Regions from separate parts of the Homo sapiens genome. Here regions 1, 3 and 4 are each linked to region 2. Evidence: promoter capture Hi-C in human tissues and cell types (Jung and others, 2019). All regions are on one chromosome and are shown on one strand. The core of a region is centred on a gene start or on the middle of the fragment in contact, and the rest is flanking DNA. Distances in the headings are between cores, read along the strand shown.

The links. Contacts are between HindIII fragments. The study calls those that stand out against the background at their distance.
Region 1: the fragment with the promoter of APOL4 here is called in contact with the fragment with the promoter of FOXRED2 in region 2 in 9 of the 25 tissues and cell types used here (IMR-90 fibroblasts, adrenal gland, aorta and 6 more).
Region 3: a contact is called between a fragment that was not itself captured here and the fragment with the promoter of FOXRED2 in region 2, in 2 of the 25 tissues and cell types used here (bladder and spleen).
Region 4: a contact is called between a fragment that was not itself captured here and the fragment with the promoter of FOXRED2 in region 2, in 3 of the 25 tissues and cell types used here (lymphoblastoid cells, mesenchymal stem cells and thymus).

The regions. Positions count from the first base shown.
Region 1 is chr22:36,199,930-36,205,423 of GRCh38, reverse strand. It overlaps APOL4 (apolipoprotein L4), which reads left to right and starts at 3,615. Exons shown (of 4, transcript NM_001386885.1): 1 at 3,615-3,724. The coding sequence starts at 3,690. RefSeq lists an enhancer at 3,140-3,639. The HindIII fragment of the contact is 28,208 bases long and covers 1-5,494 here.
Region 2 is chr22:36,504,903-36,510,260 of GRCh38, reverse strand. It overlaps FOXRED2 (FAD dependent oxidoreductase domain containing 2), which reads left to right and starts at 3,221. Exons shown (of 9, transcript NM_001102371.2): 1 at 3,221-3,252; 2 at 3,838-4,365. The coding sequence starts at 3,839. RefSeq lists a silencer at 2,975-3,474. The HindIII fragment of the contact is 18,149 bases long and covers 1-5,358 here.
Region 3 is chr22:36,224,523-36,230,202 of GRCh38, reverse strand. APOL2 (apolipoprotein L2) reads left to right here. Exons shown (of 5, transcript NM_030882.4): 5 at 1,923-3,994. The coding sequence ends at 2,799. Among named protein-coding and RNA genes, the nearest start is that of APOL2, 12 kb to the left of the region's middle. RefSeq lists an enhancer at 2,362-3,040. The HindIII fragment of the contact is 3,547 bases long and covers 606-4,152 here.
Region 4 is chr22:36,183,820-36,189,975 of GRCh38, reverse strand. APOL4 (apolipoprotein L4) reads left to right here. Exons shown (of 4, transcript NM_001386885.1): 4 at 1-848. Among named protein-coding and RNA genes, the nearest start is that of APOL4, 15 kb to the left of the region's middle. The HindIII fragment of the contact is 4,893 bases long and covers 2,133-6,156 here.

The DNA of each region.
Region 1 (5,494 bases), core at 2,366-4,865, 310 kb after region 2:
ACAAGAGCAGGCCTGGTGCGGTGGCTCATGCCAAGGTGGGAGGATCACTTGAGGCCTGGAGTTCAAGAGTAGCCCAGTCAATATAGTGAGACACCATCTCTAATATAACTTTTTTAAAAATTAGCTGGGTGGTTGGCTGATGCCTGTAGAAACAGCTACTCAGGAGGCTCAGGTGGGAGGATGGCTTGAGCCCAGGGGTTTGAAACTGCAGTGCACTATGACTGTGGCGGTGCACTTCAGCCTTGGCTACAGAGTGAGACCCTGTCTCCAGAACAAAACCAAAATAACCCCAATGGCCTTACAATAAATATACAATAAGGATCCACTTGGCATGTGTAGGAGACTGTGCAAATGCTGATGGTATGGGCAGGAGTAAGGCAGGCATCAGGGGAATGTGGAAGCACGGGAGGACGGGGAGTAATCTGAAGGGTCCCACAGTATGTCAGTGGCAGGTCTTTCTTCCTGAAGACTATAGCAGACCCCCAACCCCGAGGATGCCAGGCAGGTGGGTTGGATGAAAGAGACCTGGAGGTCTGGTCTCAGGCTGCTCCTCTAAGCGCAGCAGCAAGGAGGGTGGGGCTGGACTGCAGGAGGTGCTGGGGAGCAGCGTGTTTGCTGTGCTTGATTGTGAGCTGCTGGGAAGTTGTGACTTTCATTTTACCTTTCGAATTCCTGGGTATATCTTGGGGGCTGGAGGACGTGTCTGGTTATTATATAGGTGCACAGCTGGAGGTGAGATCCACACAGCTCAGACCAGCTGGATCTTGCTCAGTCTCTGTCAGAGGAAGATCCCTTGGTAAGTTGGGGATGGTGTGACCTCCCTCCATCTCCTTATTCTCGCAATAGCTCTATGAGGGAAGGATCATTCAGCTTTTGTAGATAAGCTCGGAGAGGTTAGGTAACTCGTTCAGATCAGACAGGAAAGCAGTGGTAGAGCCGGGATTTGCACCCAGGCTTGAGTCTGATTGCTCCCTCCCTCCTGCTGGGCCCTTAAACCGTAGAGAGAGGTGGGGAAATAGCTCAGATGGGTTCACAAAGCTCTCTGGGCTCAGCTCTGTTTTAGACTGCTGAGACATGGCCAGGTGACCCCAGAAGGAAGGTTTGTGTTGGGGGTGCCCATCTCTTTGGGAAATTTGAAGGAATCAAAGAAGGTGGAGGTGGGGAGGTGACCTGGAGCCCGGTCTGTCCTTATGGTCTGGCCACAACCAGGCTGGCCCCGGGGTGCGGCTGCTGAGGCCTGATGAGGCAAGAGATTTCTTTTGAGATACAAGGAACCTAGAGGTCATCTCACCCACCCTGAGTCTGAGCACCTACTTGTGCCAGGCCCTGTGGGGAAACTGAGGCCCTGGGAGGGGAGTGACTTGCCCAGGGTCCAGTGTCAGGAGGCTGAGCAGGTAGATCATAGGACTCCATGTCTGTGGCCCTCACCTCTGTCCCTCTGTTCAGACCTCTGGGGTGATGGAGAAGAAACAGGCTGTGCTGTGTCCCTAATGGGAAACTGTAGGGAGACCCCCTGAAACTATTGCTACGGAATAAAAGATGAAATGCTCCTGATTATTGTAAATACAAAATTGCATGCAGGATTGTGTAAAGACAATGCCAGGTTGGACTGCCAGAACGAACCAACAGCACGTGATGTGCTTCCCCCTGCAGAGAGCCTATGAATGGATGCAGGGGGGCGCCTGTCCATATGGACAAGCTAGGGCTATAAATGCTATCATCTTGCCGTGGCTCTTCTAGGCATCTTTAGGGTTCAGGTATACTCCCTTCTGAGAATTTCTAGTCTAACCGGTTATCTAGCTTCACGTCCTGTTTCCATGGATTGTCAGTAACCAGCTTTTGTTGCAATTGTTACTGCTGATTAATATCTTGCTAATCATAGGTTATGGAAAGATTGTGTTTCTGTTTTAAGGCTCTGTTAGAAATTACTGACGCACACACTATATTGTAAATTCTTATCTCTGTATACTGTACTTCTACATACAAATGCACTGTACTTCTACATACGAATGTTATGTTAAAGAATTACTTCATCCCCATGTGACCATCCCACCTCGTAATCAAATGACCCTAAATCCCTCACTAACCTACCCCCGCCCTCACTAAACTGAATAATAAATGCTGGTATATCCAGTGCATTGTTGACCAGAAGGCGGTGACCCCCCTGGACCCAGCTTTCACTATCTTGTGTGTGTCTATTATTTCTCAACCTGCCGATCCGCCTAGGAGCAAAGAGAGAGCCCCGTTGCACTGGGGGCTGCTGGCCAGATCCCGCAATAGGAAACATGGCTGAGACAGGGGAGTGAGAAGGTCGCATTGCAGAATGGTGCCTGTGGCATGACGCCAGCTTTGTAATCATGAGATTCAAAAGCCACCTGTGGAATTGTGAGTGTAACTACAGGAGTGAGAGCTTAGATCTCTGTGTTTGTAGAAGCAGAATCAAACCTGGACACTGTTGGATTACTAAAATCACCCGTTTTTCTTCAATAGCAGAGTCACAAGGGCAGATGTTGGCTTCCCGTCTGCTCTCCAAGAGCTGTGCGACTCTGGGCAAGTCACCTCCCCTCCCAGCCTAAGATTTTCCCCTCTCAGAAACCTGATAGAGCTGCCAAAAGTCCATGAAATCAGGGGGGTAATTTCTGTGAAATCTGAGTCGTGGTCTTATTTTTCTTTTTCTTTTTTTTTTTTTCTTTTTTCTGAGATGGAGTCTCGCTCTGTTGCCCAGGCTGGAGTGCAGTGGCGCAATCTCTGCTCACTGCAAGCTCCGCCTCCCGGGTTCACACCATTCTCCTGCCTCAGCCTCCCGAGTAGCTGGGACTACAGGCGCCCGCCACTACACTCGGCTAATTTTTGTATTTTTAGTAGAGATGGGGTTTCACCATGTTAGCCAGGATGGTCTCCATCTCCTGACCTTGTGATCTGCCTGCCTCGGCCTCCCAAAGTGCTGGGATTACAGGCGTGAGCCACCGCTCCCGGCCTGATTTTTCTTCACCAAAAAGAGATGCCCATCAAGATAGAAAGCACTATAGCTGAAGCCTGTAATCCCAGTGCTGTGGGAGGCAGAGGCGGGAAGATCACTTGAGGCCAGGAGTTCAAGACAGCCTGAGAAACACAGGAGATGCTGTCTCTATGAAATCAAAAATTAACAAATTAGCCCAGCATGGTAGCGTGCACCTGTAGTCCCAGCTACTCAGAAGGTTGAAGGAGGAAGATCACTTGAGCCCAGCAGATCTAGGCAGCAATGAGCTAGGATGGCGTCAAAGCCCTGCAGCCTGGGTGACACAGCAAAACGGTTTATTAAAAATGAAATGAAAATGGTGATTTCTCAGGAGGAGCACACTGTCTCAACCCCTCTTTTCCTGCCCAAGGAGGAGGCCCCGCAGCGACATGGAGGGAGCTGCTTTGCTGAAAATCTTTGTCGTCTGCATCTGGTGAGCTTGGCTCAGAGCCCTGAGGTGGGAGGGAGGGCTCCCTGTCTGGGCTGCACAATTGGGCAGGGCTTGGGCTGGGCCAGGAGCCATGTGGGTTTTTCTAGGAACCAAAATCACTTCCCGGAATTGACCAACTGGTAGACTCGCCTAGAGGGGACGCACTGTGTCCTAGTTGAGGCTAACAGTCAGTATCCAGCCTCAACATTCAGCAGAGGCCCCAGATCAGCGTCTGAGCCAGGCCAACAATGACCAAGGAGGATGGGATCCTGGGTGCAGCTCATCACAAGCGTCGGGTGAGTCCGAGGCCCCAGCTCTCTGCCCTCCTGCTCCTCTGCTCTCTCCTGGTCCTCCCAGTTCTACTGGCTCATGGTGTTGAGATGGTTGCCTTGGCCTAGGGGGTCACACAGTGAACAAAGCAGGAAGAAGGCGAAGGGATGCCCCTCTCCTGTCACCCCTGTCCCTTACAGCAAGAAGCGCCCAGACGCCCCTCTGCATACTCCCCTGGTGAATGCTGCCCAGGACTGGGTCCCCCTTTTACCCTTGTTGCATGGGGGCCCCAGAAGACAGACATCTGTGTGTCTGAACCCTGAGACAAAGGCAGGAAAGGGAAAGAGGGAGGCGAGTGGCTTTTGAGGAGGGGGCTTTAGTATGAGAGCTGGAGGATGGAACCCCATCAGGGGGCCCGGGAACCACTGAGCTGTTAAAATAAAGTCTGCAAACAAAGACCAGCTGCTGGAAGTGGGTGTGCCAGGGAGTGCGCAGAGACACACGGTGAGAAAAGAACAATGGTAATGCTTGGAGCCGCCCCTAACTGGGATGGGCCTGAAATGGTATTGTTATTATTTATAGTATCATTATTAGTCATTTTCATCTTATTTGTACCCTCCCTCTATCTCTCCTCTCCACCTTTTCCTAACATTCTATCACCAGTTTTATGTCTTCCATTAGCAACTTTGTAGCTGTAAACAATTTACTTACAACTTTCTTATACCCTCAGTTGTACCCAGTATTTCTTAACTTCCATCTTTAAAAAATGACAATATTAATCCTCCTTCTCCTTTGTTCAGTGCTTCACATCTCAACTGCTACCTTCGTGCCTTAAAGTTTGTACTAATTGGTATTGATAACAAGATATTTAGTTCTCAAATTTACATGTTGTGTATATATTTTTTGTCCTGATAAAGAGACTACTGAGAGCCAGTAAGACTGAAAGAATGGGCATCTTCATATACTGCTAGTTTGAGTGTGAATTGGTACAATTTGCATGTAGTGTGGCTCTAGGTATAAAACATTTTGAGATGTTGATACCCTCTGACCTAGTCATTCTACTCCTACAAATATCTTAAGGAAATAAAATCAAATGTGGGCAGTTTTACGTGAAGGAGGGTGTTCTTTGTAGCATAATTTACATGAAGAATTAGAAACACCCTAAGGTCCATCAGCTAGGGGAGGACAGCAGAGGGAACAGGGCAGCGCCAGGAGGGCTCGGCAGCCACAGCAGGGGCTAGGCCGGCATCTGGCAGGATCCAGGTCTTTGTGGGACAAAGGATCTTAGAGAAGCAAGGGGGACACAGGCTGTCCACTGCAGCACCAGTGAATTCACCAAGACGAAAAGTTGAGCACGGAGTGTGAGACATGGATTTGCAATGAGGAGTCATTTACCATGAGCGTGTATACATGACTCAATATTGTATATTTAAGGGAGTAGAGCACAGTCATTGAAGACATGAGGTTGAAGCAGAAGTCCTGGCTCTAGCAATAGAAAACACTGGCAAGTTCCCTAACTTTTGTGGATTCCTCTGTGTTCAAATGGGAAAGTGGTACCCATCTCCCGGGCTGTGTGTGATCATTGAATGAGACACATGTCAGAAGCCCTGCACATCACAGGCCCGGCGCGACCGCTCACGCCTGTAATCCCAGCACTTTGGGAGGCCGAGACGGGCTGATCATGAGGTCAGGAGATCGAGACCATCCTGGCTAACACGGTGAAACCCCTTCTCTACTGAAAATACAAAAAATTAGCCGAATGTGGCGACGGGCACCTGTAGTCCCAGCTACTCGAG
Region 2 (5,358 bases), core at 1,972-4,471:
AATTTTTGTATTTTTAGTAGAGACGGGGTTTCGCCATATGGGTCAGGATGGTCTCGAACTCCTGACCTCAGGTGATCTACCCGCCTTGGCCTCCCAAAGTGCTGAGATTACAGGCGTGAGCCACCGCACCCAGCCGAGGCTATGTAAACTATGTAAGTGGACACTGTTCTGTTCTGGACACTTGATGGAGTAATTACCCTGCCAGGTATTAATGCTGAGCTTTCTGTAGTATCTAAGCCTCATACAGAACTGTGATGCTGGCAGGAGTAGTACCATTGTAGAGGTGAGGAAACAGGCATGGTGGCTCAAACCTCTAATCCCAACACTTTGAGAGGCTGAGGCAGAAGGATCACTTTAGCCTAGAAGTTTGAGACCAGCCTGGGCAACACAGGGAGACCAGGGCCTGTCTCTGCAAAAAAATAAATTATTAGCCAGTCATGATGCTTCCACCTGTGGTCCCAGCTACTCAGGAGGCTGAGGTGGGAGGATTGCTTGAGCCCAGGAGTTCAAGGCTGCAGTGAGCTATGATCACACCACTGCACTCCAGCCTAAGTGACAGAAGGAGACCCTTTATCAAAAAAAAAAAGGCCAGGTGCAGTGGCTCATGCCTGTAATCCCAGCACTTTGGGAGGCCGAGGTGGGTGGATCACTTGAGGTCAGGAGTTCAAAACCAGCCTGAGCAACATAGCAAAACCCCGTCTCTACTAAAAATACAAAACAGCCAGGCATGGTGGCACACGCCTGTAATTCCAGCTACTTGGGAGGCTGAGGCTGGAGATTCACTCGAACCCAGGAGGCGGAGGTTGCAGTGAACTGAGATCACACCACTGCACTCCAATTTGGATTACAGAGACTCTCAAAAAAAGCTCAGCATTTCTAAAGTTACAGGTTTTTTTTTTAAAGTAGCTTGAAAAAACACAAAATTAATTTTAATGAATCGAACCTCAGCAAGCAAAAGGTTTCTTGAACTGTGTTAGAAGCAGTGGAGAGAAAAAGTGTACTTGGGGAGTTTTCAATGTGAATACAGAGTGTTAAAAAACAGATTAAAGTGGTGTGACTAGTGCCGGGGGTTTCCAGGTTGGACCAGTATTCACCAAATTGCCTCTTGCAAACCATGGCCCTGTCCAACAGGATTAACAGAAGCAAGTGGAAGTGACTCAAGCTCATTCCCTGAAAATACTTTGCATCAGTTTCCACTGCCTTTTTTTTTTTTTTTTTTTTTTTTGAGACGGAGTCTTGCTCTGTTGCCCAGGCTGGAGTGCAGTGGCGCAATCTCAGGCACTGTAAGCTCCGCCTCCTGGGTTCACGCCATTCTCCTGCCTCAGCCTCCCGAGTAGCTGTCCACTGCTTTTATCTGTCCTGCATGGGGCTACCAAGTTGACTGCTGCAGTAATCCTACATTCAGAAACTCCCAGTAGCATCCTGTTGCTTACAATCTAGGTTCAGCCTACTCGTAGGGCCCTACCATACTTGACGAATTCTGTTTAATTTCCCACTACTGTATTCACCACATAAGACCAGCAATTATTTTAGGAACTTGTTTGCCAGCACCCATTCTCATAATCTTCACAACCACTAAGAAACAGACATCCCCAAATTGCATGACTATCAAAACATCTCATATGCCCCATAAATATATACACATATGCCCCCAAAAATTTTTTTGAAAAATTGGCCAGGGGCCATGGCACACACTTGTAATCCCTAGCACTTTGGGAGGCTGAAGCAGGATCGCTTGAGCCTGGAAGGTCAGGGCTGCAGTGAGCCATGATTGTGTCACTGCACTCCAGCCTGGGTGACAGTGAGACTCTGTCTCAAAAAGAAGAAATAAGACATCCCTACTTTATTTTTGGCAAAGTATTCTGCCTGACCTCTCTGGTTGCAATGCTTATTCAACAAATGCTTAAACTTCCGTATGTCAGATACTGGACAATTTCTGCTCTGAGGGAGCTTTTCTCTGATGTTGACACAGACTGAAGAAAGTAAATGACATTCGGCCAGGCGCGGTGGCTCACGCCTGTAATCCCAGCACTTTGGGAGGCCGAGGCGGGCGGATCACGAGGTCAGGAGATCGAGACCATCCTGGCTAACACAGTGAAACCCTGTCTCTACTAAAAATACAAAAAATTAGCCGGGTGTGGTGGCGGGCACCTGTAGTCCCAGCTACTAGGGAGGCTGGGGCAGAAAAATGGCGTGAACCTGGGAGGTGGAGCTTGCAGTGAGCCGAGATCACGCCACTGCACTCCAGCCTGGGCGACAGAGTGAGACTCCATCTCAAAAAAAAAAAAAAAAGAAAAAGTAAATGACATTCTTTGGTAGGTACTTGTAGGCCTGAGAGGTCAGGAAAATTTTTCTAAGGAGTCCCCAGCTACGATTTTTAATTCAAAGAATCTCCAGCCATGCAAATCTGCAGGCTCGCAGTTCTTTCCACCTGCCCTTCCCCCAAGAACACTCAGCCCCATTTCACTGGACTTTGAAGGTTCCTACACTGACTTCGTATTTCTCCCCATGTAAATCTCATGCAGGGGCCACTTGCCACCCCTGGGAAGCCAACCTTCATCATCCAGTTCACGTTATCTTCCTCCTGCCATTTATCTTGCCTCCACTGAGTTTTAATTCCAGGCTCCACTTCCTGTGATTGTAAACATATCCCTTCATCCCTATGTCTCCATTTGACCAGTCAGCTACCAAATGTCGGAAACAATGCCTTGCCCACCTCTCCTATTTGGTGGAAGATTAGGACAGTCGTGTATGTTACTTGGTAAGCAGTACACTGAGTCACTGTAGCAAACGCTTGTTAATTGGCTTATCGGTCCTGGCTCCACCACGCTGGTTTCCAGTCCCACAAAACTGGGTAGGCCAACTAGTTTTAGCGTTTGGCTACATTCATGGAATATGAGAGCTAGGATTAGCTCCAAAAATCACGTGCTCCCCTCCCTCCGTGTAGAGAGGCACCTTTTAAAACGAAGGACCCAGTTCCCCATCCCGGATCTCCAGACCTTCCACCCTCGCGGGTGCGCGCTAGCCCCAGGCCCCTCTACCAGCCCCCGGAGCAGCGAACGCAGCACGCGCGCGCCTCTCCCGCGCTGGGCCGGAGCAGGCAGCCTGCCAGCTGGTCCCGGCGTGCCGCGCGCCGCGCACGTGACCCCGCCCCCTGCCATTGGTCCGGGCGCGAGGGGCGGAGCCGCCGCGGAGCAAGCGAGCCAAGCGCGGCCTCATTAGACCACGGGTTGCAGCCGGAGCGGCTGGGAGGTTCGCGCGTTTCTCAGGGTTCGGTCGGAGGCGGGGAGGCCGGAGCTGCGGGCGTAGGGACCTGGCGGCTCCTGAAGCGCACGCGGGCGGGCGGCAGGTGTGCGCGGCATCCCTGTCACGTGGCCGAAGAGCCTGGGGCGCGCGGACCCTGGCAGGGGGCGGGGCGCACGCAGGCCACACCCACTTCAGGCTCCCACCCGGTCGCTGGAGAGGGGCCAAGGCCTCTGGAAGGTCCAACCTGGAGGGTGGTTCAAAGGGGTGTTGGGCACCCTCAAATTAGGGGAAAATTGGGGAGTACGCTCTCCTTCCCCAGGGTGGAGGTTACTACAATCATAAGCGGGGAGCCGGTGCCCCTGAGGAAGGAGACCCTGAGGGAGATAAGATGGAGGGGCTCGGGATTCCGGGGAGCCCCAAGTCCCAGCTTGAAACGGTGGAGTCCGGGCAAATGAGCTCTGAGGACGGCTTCTGGGCCTGGCCGTGACCCAGATTGCAGTGAGAGTTCCCGCAGGCCCCGCCTCTTTCTGGGCCTCGTGTCTCCCAGCCGCCGGGCCGGGTGCGAGGCCTTACCCCTCTGATCTGCTGCAGGATGGGCCTCTCCGCTGCGGCCCCGTTGTGGGGTCCCCCGGGGCTGCTCCTGGCCATCGCCCTGCACCCAGCGCTGTCGGTGCCCCCGCGCCGGGACTACTGCGTGCTGGGCGCTGGGCCCGCGGGCCTGCAGATGGCCTACTTCCTGCAGCGCGCTGGACGCGACTACGCAGTGTTCGAGCGGGCCCCGCGGCCCGGCAGCTTCTTCACACGCTACCCGCGGCACCGCAAGCTCATCAGCATCAACAAGCGGTACACGGGCAAGGCTAACGCCGAGTTCAACCTCCGCCACGACTGGAACTCTCTGCTCAGCCACGACCCCCGGCTGCTCTTCAGACACTACTCGCGTGCCTACTTCCCCGACGCCCGCGACATGGTGCGCTACCTGGGTGACTTCGCGGACACGCTGGGGCTCCGTGTCCAGTACAACACCACCATCGCCCACGTCACTCTGGACAAGGACCGACAGGCCTGGAATGGCCACTACTTCATCCTAACTGACCAGAAGGGCCAGGTGCATCAGTGCAGGTAAGGCCGGTGCCAGAGCTCACCTGCGGAAGCTGGGACCTTCCCCACACGAACCACACACCTTGATTGGCCAGTAGGTATGGGAGGAATGGACGAAAAAGGGTATTTCGCTTTTTTTTTTTTTTAAGACGGAGTCTCACTCTGTCGCCCAGGCTGGAGTGCAATGGCACGAGGTCAGCTCACTGCAACCTCCGCCTCTCTAGTTCAAGCGATTCTCCTGCCTCAGCCTCCCCAGTAGCTGGGATTACAGGCAAGCACCACCACACCCGGCTAATTTTTTTATATTTTTGGTGGAGATGAGATTTCACGACGTTGGCCAGGCTGGTCTCGAACTCCTGACCTCAGGAGATCCACCCACCTCAGCCTCCCCAAATGCTGGGATTACAGGTATGAGCCACCGCACCCGGCCTTCAATTCTATTTTTGAAACCACTCTGTGATCAAAGCATTCTTCTGCAAGCCGGCAGGATCCAAGTCCCCAGCTGCCCTCCCCTGGATGGCGATCCTCACCAATGGAAGGAGCAGGACTTTGGAATCAAGCCTATCTGTGTTTAGACTCTGGCTCTGCTGCTTTTAGGAGCTCTCAAGCCATGGGCCTGCAGGGCCTGTGCCTCCTCACCTGTAAAGCAGGCCACATACCACCTCCAGGTTGCTTGGAGGAGTCAGAAAGATGGTGCACAGATACACTTAGTACAGGGCCTGGTACAGAATTACTGCTCAGTGGATAGATGTATCTGTCAGAGGACTCAGAAAGGGGAAAGTAGAATGTCAGGTTTCATTTCATCACCAGCAGTCATACCTGGTCTGACTGCTATGTGCAAAGTTAGGTGAATTCTCCATTTCTCATACTGTCATCTTCTCCTCTCTCACAGGGCAAATTTAACCCCCAGTACAGTGCTAGGGAAAATACTGTGAGCTCAGGGAGAGGCAAGGGCAGAGCCTCTCAAGTGCACTGGGATGAGGGCGTAAACAGATGAATGAATGAAAAATGAAT
Region 3 (5,680 bases), core at 1,130-3,629, 280 kb after region 2:
TACTGAGCAGACTCACAAAGTCCCAACCGAGGAGGAAAACACTTCCTCTACCATCTTGACCAAATTCAGGTCTTTTCAGCATTAGCAATTTATATAGATGGTTCTGAAAGTGTCTTGAGTCTTCTAGTGGTTCCATAAAATTGCACATGGCCTTGCTGTGCACACAGGTGAAGCTGTCACTGCTAAGGCATCAGTTAGGCTGGTGACACCTGCGAGTGAGACCTGGAAGGTTGGGGGTGCAGGTGGTAGGTCAGGAGGCAGTAAGGTGGCTGGAGCGTCCATGTGGAGCCAGAATGAATAGCCAGATCTCCCACTCCAGTCAGCTGGGGCAGTGGCCGCACCCAGTAGCCTTCAGCCAGGTGAAAGGGCATGAGGCATTGGAAGGGAGCAGATGCCAGGCAAAGTGATCTCCTGTCTTTCTGAGGTTTTGTTTTTGTTTGAATTCAAAGTACTCAGAGATAGCCAGACTGCAATGTCTGAGGGCACCCTTACCTTTGACACCACCTGCAAATCTATGGGGATTCCTAAAATCATCCTTAGATTTTATAATTCACTAGAAGGACTCACGTAACTCACTGAAAACTGCTATTGCACGATTGTGGTTTATCACAGGGAAAGAACACAGATTAAAATCAGCCTAAGGAAGAGACACACAGGGCAGAGTCTGGGAGGATTTCAGGTGTGAATCTTCATTGTCCTCAGGAGGCTGTGTTCTCCTGTGTGAATGTGGGACAAAACACATGCGGTGTTGCCAACCAGGGAAGCTCACCCAGTTAAGGAAAAATTCCTGTGAATCACATTAAACCAGAAATGAAGCCTTTATTCAGGATTGTTGTTACAGGGGAGGGAGACTGAGCCCAGCTCCAAATATAGTAAAGACAGAGGGGGAGTCACAGCCAACACCAGGGTGGGGGCGGGAGATGGAACAGGACTGACAGGAGACGCCAGAGTGGGGGGTTCCTGCTAAACTGGCCTAACAGGATTCTCGCCAAAGGCAGGTCAGACCCTCAACCACCAGTGGTGGGGGTGAGGAGCATGATCAGATAACAAACGGTGCTCAGACAGCAAGCGGGGAGGACCCTCCCTAAACTGATTTGGGGAGATTCTTGCTGAGCCAAGGTGGTGCAAGTCCAGAAAGCAGTGGGTGAGTGTGGAAGGCCAAGGTCGGCGCCTAGTGGAGAAGAAGCTCTGAAGAGCCCAGCTGGAGTTGGTCAAGGAGAAAGTCCTTCTTTCTCAACCCATGCCTTAGTGTCCAGAGTATCTGCTGGGGCTGGATCACAAGCTGCCCTCATGGCTAGAGTCTCCAGCCCTTCCCTGAGATCTCACACCTTTAGTCCCCAAGTCCTCTGGAAGTCAGGAAAGACACCAAATAGCCCCAAACCCTATCATCCATCACATCGCTATACTGTCCCGTGGCCAAATCACCAGGCAAAGAAAGATGTTCCTACCAGGCAGGACATTCCAGGGGCCTGGAGATCACTTCCCAGGAGCTGAGGACAAAGGGAAGGCCTCTCTTTGGGTAAAGTTCATGCTTCACTTTCCTGCCATCCTGGTAATAAGGTCTCTTTGTCTCACTCTCACTGCTCTTTGTTCATCTGCAGAGTTTTCCCTCTCCAAACACTTTGGCAGTCACGGTGTTGACCTGCCCTTGAGTGAGGAGGCATCTTTATCAAACACCTACCATGAAAGAGCATCTGAGGTGCCTTTAAGATATTTATTTCCATATGGAATAAGTACTGAGGAATATCTATGATGAACAAAATGTGTTTGAGTTTGAAAGATAATTAATTCCATTTGTAAAATTTGTTTCTATTTGATTGATAGTGAAAGCTCTGCAATTTACACAGGATAGAGATCGCATGGAGCTCATTTCACAGATAGGGAAACTGCATTTCTTAATCCTTTAACCTTTCCTTGTGCAGGGATGAGGCAGATGAGCTCCGTAAAGCTCTGAACAAGCTTGCAAGTCACATGGTCATGAAGGACAAAAACCGCCACGATAAAGACCAGCAGCACAGGCAGTGGTTTTTGAAAGAGTTTCCTCGGTTGAAAAGGGAGCTTGAGGATCACATAAGGAAGCTCCGTGCCCTTGCAGAGGAGGTTGAGCAGGTCCACAGAGGCACCACCATTGCCAATGTGGTGTCCAACTCTGTTGGCACTACCTCTGGCATCCTGACCCTCCTCGGCCTGGGTCTGGCACCCTTCACAGAAGGAATCAGTTTTGTGCTCTTGGACACTGGCATGGGTCTGGGAGCAGCAGCTGCTGTGGCTGGGATTACCTGCAGTGTGGTAGAACTAGTAAACAAATTGCGGGCACGAGCCCAAGCCCGCAACTTGGACCAAAGCGGCACCAATGTAGCAAAGGTGATGAAGGAGTTTGTGGGTGGGAACACACCCAATGTTCTTACCTTAGTTGACAATTGGTACCAAGTCACACAAGGGATTGGGAGGAACATCCGTGCCATCAGACGAGCCAGAGCCAACCCTCAGTTAGGAGCGTATGCCCCACCCCCGCATGTCATTGGGCGAATCTCAGCTGAAGGCGGTGAACAGGTTGAGAGGGTTGTTGAAGGCCCCGCCCAGGCAATGAGCAGAGGAACCATGATCGTGGGTGCAGCCACTGGAGGCATCTTGCTTCTGCTGGATGTGGTCAGCCTTGCATATGAGTCAAAGCACTTGCTTGAGGGGGCAAAGTCAGAGTCAGCTGAGGAGCTGAAGAAGCGGGCTCAGGAGCTGGAGGGGAAGCTCAACTTTCTCACCAAGATCCATGAGATGCTGCAGCCAGGCCAAGACCAATGACCCCAGAGCAGTGCAGCCACCAGGGCAGAAATGCCGGGCACAGGCCAGGACAAAATGCAGACTTTTTTTTTTTTTTTTTTTTTTTTTTGAGATGGAGTCTCGCTCTATCGCCCAGGATGGAGTGCAGTGGCTCAATCTCGGCTCACTGCAAACTCCGCCTCCCGGGTTCACACCATTCTCCGGCCTCAGTCTCCCGAGTAGCTGGGACTACAGGCACCTGCCACCACGCCCGGCTAATTTTTTTGTATTTTCACTGGAGACGGGGTTTCACTGTGTTAGCCACGATGGTCTCCATCTCCTGACCTCGTGATCTGCCCACCTCGGCCTCCCAAAGTGCTGGGATTACAGGCGTGAGCCACCGCGCCTGGCCAAAATGCAGACATTTTATTAGGGGGATAAGGAGGGCAAGGTAAAGCTTATGGAACTGAGTGTTAGTGACTTTGGCATTTGTGTAGCTGAGCACAGCAAGGGAGGGGTTAATGCAGATGGCAAGTGCACCAAGGAGAAGGCAGGAACACTGGAGCCTGCAATAAGGGAGGAGAGAGGACTGGAGAGTGTGGGGAATGGGAAGAAGTAGTTTACTTTGGACTAAAGAATATATTGGGCGAAGAATAGAGGGGGAGCTTGCAGGAACCAGCAATGAGAAGGCCAGGAAAAGAAAGAGCTGAAAATGGAGAAAACCAGAGTTAGAACTGTTGGATACAGGAGAAGAAACAGCAGCTCCACTACCGACCCCCCCCCAGGTTTGATGTCCTTCCAAGAATAAAGTCTTTCCCTGGTGATGGTCTCTCGCTCTGTCTTTCCAGCATCCACTCTCCCTTGTCCTTCTGGGGGTGTATCACAGTCAGCCAGTGGCTTCTTCATGATGGTGGTTGGGGTGGTTGTCATGTGACGGGTCCCCTCCAGGTTACTAAAGGGTGCATGTCCCCTGCTTGAACCCTGAGAGGCAGGTGGTAGGCCATGGCCACAATCCCCAGCTGAGGAGCAGGTGTCCCTGAGAACCCAAACTTCCCAGAGAGTATCTGAGAACCAACCAATGAAAACAGTCCCATCGCTCTTAGCCGGTAAGTAAACAGTCAGAAGATTAGCATGAAAGCAGTTTAGCATTGGGAGGAAGCACAGATCTCTAGAGCTGTCCTGTCGCTGCCCAGGATTGACCTGTGTGTAAGTCCCAATAAACTCACCTACTCACCAAGCTGGACTTGTTCGAGTCATTCTTTGGTCTCTCAGCTCCTTCTAAGCTTTGGGGGCCATCAGTCTCAAGTTTTTCTCGTAATGGTGGTGATGGTGGTTGTGATGGCAGCAGAGTGGTGGGGGCCTTGGCAAGTGGTCGGTGCTCTTCCAGACCAGGGGACACCGATGGACCGATGAAGTTCCAGGGGAACTTGAAGTGCTGTGTTGGAAAGAGGTTAATTTGGGAAGAAAGGAAAAATGAAAGGAGATGCCAGGAACAGGTCAAGGAAGCTTGAGGTGTGTCCAGGAGTTCAACCCTGCTTGTGGTCATGAGACTTCACCCCTCTGAGCCTCAGTTTCCTCATCAGCTGTAGAAGGGGGCTGGAAAAGGTGATATCTCAGGTCCACCTTGCTCTCCCCATCTTGTGTTCTGGAGACTTGAGTCAATCAGCACTGACTGATGGCTGTGACTTTGTGGTGCCGATGGAGGCTCCCCTGGGCTCTGGGTGCCTGACTTAACCTTCCTCATGATCCTTCTTCCAGGGTCTCAGGGAGCGAAGTTTCAAGACCCCTTCTGCTCGCTCACTGGACTCTCACTTTCCCAGCTGGTCATTTCCCTGAGACCTCAAAACCCCAAGCCCATTGGGGCACTCGGGGAAAGCTTGTACATGTCTGGCTCTGGCTGAGCACAGGTGTGGTTTCCATCTGTGAGTCAGAGCCCGGGATTGACACGGGACACTCGAGGCTAACTAGTGTCAGAGGGGCCTGTGTGCAGATTGGGAGAGGATCAGCGAAAAATAGAGGGACAAAGAGAGACATCCAGACAGCAAACACTCCCATCCAGTCTGTCCTCACGTTTTGCCCAGACTCCTGCAAGAACTTCCAGAATGGTCTTCTCTGTGCCCCTGCCCCTGTCCCTCCCATGTCCTGGACCATGCTCCACACTGGGCCAGGTTGGGCTTTAACAATATAGTTTCTTTTTTTTTTTCAGATACTCTCACTCTGTTGCAAGGCTGGCAAACCGTGGCACAATCATGGCTCACCACATCTTGGACCTCCCGGCCTCAAACTATCCTTCCACCTTGACTCCCTGAGCAATTGGGACCATCCGTGTGTACCCCAATGCCTCGTTAATTTTTGTATTTTTTTTTTTTTTTGTAGAGACAGGGTTTCCCTATCTTGCCCAGGCTGGTCTCAAACTCCTGAGCTCAGGTGATCTGTTCACCCTGGCCTTCCAATGGACTGCAATTGCAGGCATGAGCCACCATGCCCACCTAAGAACATAGGTTTGATTGAGCACCTGCTTCCAACCCTCTAATGGCTTCCCATTACTCTTAGCACAAAGATGTAGGCCATGATGCTGCCTAAAGTAGCCTGTTGTGGCCTGGGGTCCTGTGAAGGAAGAGCCAGGGGCAACGTTCTGGTGTAGAGGGTTTGTGTGGGAAGTGATTCTAGGAGCAGAACTGAGGATCCAGGAGGGAAGGAGGAAAAGTTGATACAAGGAGAAGTTTTTGAATGGGTCATCCATATGGGCAATGAGACCTTCCGAGGTGCCTTCAAGAAGCGTCCTCAGAATCTTTGTCTCCAGGGAGGAGAGAGGGAGGCCTTTATCCATGGCCTTTATCCCCATGGGCTTGCCTCAGGCTGAACTTCCAGCCAAATCTTCAGCTGTTACCTAAGAAACAATGCAGATCCTGGCCCGAGGACG
Region 4 (6,156 bases), core at 3,330-5,829, 320 kb after region 2:
AGTGCAGCCACCAGGGAAGGTGAGCCAGACACAGGCCGGGACAAAACGCAGACATTTTTTAGGGGAATAAAGAGGGCGAGGTAAAGTTTATGGAACTCAGTGTTAGGAACTTTGGCATCTGTAGCTGAGCACAGCAGGGGAGGGGTTACTCAAGATGGCAAGTGCGCCAAGGAGAAGGCAGAAATGCTGGGGCCTGGAATAAGGGAGGAGAGGGGACTGGAGAGTGTGGGGAATGGAAAGAAGCAGTTTACTCTAGACTAAAGAGTATATTGGGGGAGGAAGAGAGGGAGGCACGTAGGAACAAGCAATGAGAAGACCAGGAAAAGAAAGAGCTGAAAATGGAGAAAGCCACAGTTAGAACTGTTGGATACAGGAGAAGAAACAGCGGCTCCACTAAAGACCCGCCCCCCGGTTGGATGTCCTTCCAAGAATGGAATCCTTCCCTGGTGATGGTCTCTCACCCTGTCTTACCAGCATCCACTCTCCCTTGTCCTCCCGGGGGTGTATCTGAGTCAGCCAGTGGCTTCTTGATGATGGTGGTGGTGGTTGTAGTGTGACAGGTCCCCTTTAGGTTATTTAAGGGTGCATGTCCCCTGCTTGAACCCTGAAGGCCGGGTAATGAGCCATTTCCATGGTGCCCAGCTGAGGACCAGGTGTCTCTGAGAATCCAAACATCCTGGAGAGTATCTGAGAACCAACCAAGTAAAAGTCTCGTTGCTCATATATAGTAGACAAAGAGCCAGAAAATTAACTGAAAAGCAGTTTAGACATTGGGGGAGGCTGGATCTCTCGAGCTGTCTTGCTGAGTGCCCTGTGTGTAAGTCCTAATAAACTTAGCTACTCGCCAAGCTGGACTTGTTTAAGTCATTCCTTGGTCTCATGGCTCCTTTCCCGCTTTGAGGGCAAGTTCCTGTCTCAAGTTTTTGTCCTAACAGTGGTAAAGGTGATTGTGGTGATGTCAGCAGACAGCAAGAGGACTTGACATGGGGTCGGCCCTGCTTGGGGCCAGCGTACACTGAGGGACCGATGACATTTCAATGAAACTCCAAATGCTATATTGGAAACGTTGATGTGTGAAGAAAAATAAAAGCAAAACCAGATGCCAGGAACAAGTCAAGGAATGTTGTGGTGCATTGAGGAGATGAACCAGCCTGCAGTCAAGAGACCCCATCTCTCTGAGCCTCAGTTTCCTCATCAGCTGGGAAAGGGGGGCTGGACAAGATGATATCTCACATCCACCTGGCCCTCTTCTCTTGTGTTCTAGAGACTTGTGTTCAAGCAACACTGACTGATGACTGAGCCTTTGTGTGTTGATATATGGGCTCCCCTAGGCTCTGGGTGCCTGACTTCTCTTCCTCATGATTCTTCTTCCAGGCTCTCAGGGAGCTAGGCCTCCATGGCCCCTTCTGCTTACTCTCCAGACTGCTCATTTCTCTGCGAACCCAGTGCCCAGTGGCCCCTGAAGCACTCAGGGAAAACTTGTAGACTTCTGGCTTGGCTCTAGTACAGGCGTGGTCCTGATCTAGCAGCCAGGGCCCAGGATTGACATGGGTCACATGAGGCTAAGATCAGAAGGGCCTGTATGTAGGTTGAAGGAAAATCCATGAGACATAGAGGGACAGAGAGAGACAGCCAGACAGCAAATACCCTCATCCAGTCTGCAAACACCCTCATCCAGTCAGCCTTCTCACTTCGCCCAGACTCCTGCAAAAGCTTCCAAAATGGTCTTCGCTGATACACAGCCCTTGCCGCTAGGCCAGCTCTTCCTCCACATTGGGCCAAGTTGACCCATAAAAACACAGATTTCATCAAACACCGGCTTCCATGTCTTCAATGGCTTCCTATTACTCTTAGCACAAAAGCCCAGAGCCTTCATGCTGTCTAATGTAGGCTGCTGTGGCCTGAGTTCCCCTGAAGGGAGAGCCCTAGGCAAGGCTCCCAGGCAGAGGATTTGTTTGGGAAGTGATTCTAGGAGCAGGACTGGGGTACTGGGAGGAGTGACACAGAGAAGGACAGAAGGCTGATGCCGGGAGAAATTCTTGATAGGGTCACCCATGTGGGCGACTGGAGACCTCCTGAGGAGTCTTCAAGGAGCGTCTTCAGAATGTTCCTCTACAGGGAGGAGAGAGGGAGGCCTGTAACCACTGCTCCTGTCCCCCATGGCCTTGCCCCAGTGGACATTAATTATCTGTATTTCCATGCATAGAATATAGAACTGCTGGGCGCCTCAGCTGGAGCCCAGAGCAGGGGCAAGAGATACAGAATGCACAAAATCACCCCAGAACCTCTCCTAAGTCACTCGTAAAGTGCACCCAGGGCCTACTTAGTCCTTTTTTATGTAGCATCCTGCAGAACACTTGCCTCAGTCCCTGTAACTCTCCATCAGCCAAGGCTTCCCTGACCTTCAGTTGATTCATCTATTTCTTCCTGAAGAAGTCAACAGAGCAACGGCCACCGACTTGCCTAACGCCAGAACATTGTGTTTCATTTGTCTGTCAATTGTTCATCAATTCCTGGATAATTCCCATTCTTTTCATACATTTCACTTAAGCTTTGAATGTTTCTGGCACTGAGTAATTTACTTCTTCAGTGATCCAGCCAGCATTTGCCCTGACACTTAGAGTTGAAATGCCATCAGGCTACCTGCATTTGATGCAATTCCACTGTACTGCTAGTATTGTTTAAAAATTTTTCAATTGCAAGCAACAGAAACAGAAACTATCTGTCTTAAACAAAATAGAAGATTCATTGGATGAAAACTAGAGCAGGTCAGAGGATGGAAGGAAGAACAAAATCTACAGAATTTGGAAGGACAGGAGCAGACCATTACCAACATCAGGAATATATGGTTTGCCCTTTCAGGGCTCTGCCTGCACCTGGCTTAGCTCCACACACTTTGATTCCTAGTGTCTCTGATTAAAGTTTCACATTCTCAAATGAGAGGATAGCTTGGGTCAGTGACTGTTCTTGAACCAATCAGTCAGGCTATGGTATCAGGAACAGCGATGAGTAACAGAGACACAAACCCTAATGGGAAGCCTCTGGCCAAACAGTCACCTGAATTTGTGCTTATTGTATATAGTCAACTGCTTGCTACCACACACACGTACCCTTCTTCTCATACAAACAAAAAGAACCCTTTTCGACTGGGCACAGTGGCTCACGCCTGTAATCCCAGCACTTCGCGTGGTTGCAGCGGGCGGATCATTTGAGTTCAGGAGTTCAAGACCAGCATGGCCAACATGATGAAACCCCGTCTCTACTAAAAATACAAAAATTAGCCAGGCATGGTGATACATGCCTGTAATCCCAGCTACTCAGGAGGCTGAAGCAGGAGAATTGCTTGAATCCGGGAGGCAGAGCTTGCAGCGAGCTGAGATCACGCCACTGCAGTCCAGCCTGGTGAAAGAGCGAAACTCCGTCTCGAAAAACAAACAAAAAACTCTCTTTACCTGTTATGAATCCAGCCATCCGAACGACAAAGACAAATGCACTTGCTTCTTCTCCAAAGAGAGCCACACACACCATCGCCCTCTTCTGCATGCTGAAGTTATGTCACAGGAGGAAGGCCTCGGCACACTGTCAATTTTTCTCTTGGTCCATTGGCAGCTCCTATCTCAGCATTTTCTGTGTGTATATTTGTAGGAAACAGAGAGGTGCGGTCAAGGCTACAACCACCACTGACCATTGCTGCCACCGTCACAAGTCTTTGACTGTTCCACTCAATGTTCCTCTTACTTATGGGCGAAGTCATTCTTGTGGGGTCTAAGCTCCTTGATGGTCTGGCCTCAGTAAGGTGGTGAAATTTCCTATTCACCTTTACAACTTGTTAGAGTATTACAAGGAGCAATCCTAGGGGATCCCTCGATTCCTCATGTCCTGCTGTGTAGTAACAACATGAGCTTCCCTGGATGATCATGATCCATGATTATATCTAACCCAGTGACGTCATTGCTATCCCTACATCAGGGAGCATGAGAAGCCAGCTATGGGCACCTCTGAAACCACTTTTGTCAGCCTTGCAGGAGGCATTCCCACCTTAGATACTGAAACTTCTAGACTTAAAAGTCTCTGAGTTAGGGGTATTGTAAACAAGATTTTTGAAAGTGACTTATTGTTTGTAACCATAGAGCTATCACCCTCATCTTAACCTCTTACTGTCCAGCTCCATAAATTCTGGCTATCACAGGAAATGAGGTAAATTTTGGGTATGAATTCAAAACATAGCACATCCTAAAGGCAGTTCCCAGCCTCTGACATGGAACTGAGTCCCCTTCGGGCCATTTCCATGCTCTCTAAGGCTGTGACTTCCGGGGTTGAGATTCACTGGACGATGCCAAGTGCTCAGCCTTGAGGAGGGATCCGTGTTGCGTGGTTACACCGAGCTCCACATCACGCACCTGGTTATGGAGCCCATTCTGAAAATACCGGGCCGCCCTGGGAACAGAGGAGACTTGCAGCCACAAAAGTGACTTCTTCCCTGTATATGAGTCTCTTGAGAGTGGAGACTTTCTAGTCAGTATTCACATGGGACAGGGGTAGTTTTTTTCTCTTTCTTTTTTTTGCTCTGGGCTCATTCTAAAATCTTTATCTGTATACCTCTTCCCTAAATATCTTTGTCACCAAGCCTCCAGACGTATTCCTTCTAAAATGCTGAACTTACAGCCAAATCCTCAACTGTTACCCAGCAAACAAGGCAGATCCTTCCCGAGGACACCTCTCCTTCCAGGCAGCCTGGACTGTGAGGTGTGCTCCACTGCTCTTCAGGAACCATCCCTGAGAGGTGTTCCACAGCAGGCCAGGCCTGGTGGGAGCAGGTGGGCCAGGAGGAAAGCACAGCAGAATTTGAGAGATGTTGAGTACTCATAACTCAGTGTAAGCACCTGCATTCAGCCCTCATGGTCTGTGAGTTATGTATCTCTATTTAGTTTTCACAAATTAGAGTTAGGGGTCTGCCTTGTACAATCAAAGATGTCAATATTTAGAACCAAGAGATGGAACAAACTTGTTTCACAGCAGGGAACTCTTCCGCATCTATTTTCCTCTTCCTACTTTGGGCGTTTGCCAGCATGTGTAGTCATAGAGAGAGGCTGGGCCCATTTCCCTCTGTGATTCTAAGGCAAGTAGATTCTCCCACTCCCTACCCCCACTCTGGCATCCAGGGCTCCTGTCCAAGAGCTAGGCTGGCTAATTGGCTGCTTCCACATGGGATTCTGAAACTGGAGCAAGTGAGGCAAAGCCCAGGGTGCTTAGAACCCATTCTCAGTGAGAGCAGCAGGACTGCCCAGGAGGAGAATAGAGAAGAGGGCGACCGAGTCCTGCACCTGCAGAGATGATGTCCGCAGGTGGCGGGGCAGCGCTGTGGCCGTGTCACTCCTCACAAAGCAGGGCTCTTGTGCTCGCAGCCTTGATACCGTGTCACTGTCTTGGCTTCTTTTTATCTTCCAAGCCAAACTCCAGCCTCCTCTGCAGGTGGGGCTCTTCTGATATGATTCCAGTGAATTTCATGTTGTTTTCTGCCCTTAAAAACCAGAGATGGTACCTCTGCTTGACCAAGAAGCCTGATTGATAGAGACTGAGAGCTGCAGGCTGTGTTTATTTGCTTCATTAACAAGAACACCTTAGGAATGGCAGCTTCTACTGATGAGCTTCCTGCTTTGTTCTGCTGTTGGAAGACAAACAGTTGTTTCCCTGCTGACGACTGGCTGCATTGAAGAGGTGAACAGGTGAGTCACAGGAATCACTGCTTCTGCTCCCTTTAAACCTTGATGATGGCAGCAATCTCTCTAACTCCTCCATGAATTTGCTGTTGACTCTGATTAAAATATTTAGGCAGGTATGTAAAACCAACGGCTTCCACCGGCGTCTGTCACTGAAATAGTCATCATCCGTGGGTCTACGTGAACAATCTGAAGCTTCCAAGAATATGCATTCCAGTTATCCACCCAGGAATTTAAAAAATAATAACCAGGTGATAGACTTATTGAAAAGTAAACTGAAATCAGATATTCATTCATTACTTGTTCCCTGTAACCCCCCCTCTGACTGGAACACCACAGTGGCACTCTGGGTCATTATGGGTCCCAGGAATTGGTGTCAGTCTGGATGGGATCCAACAGTCCTGGGGATGGGTTTCCTTTAAGCCGTCCCCTGTGA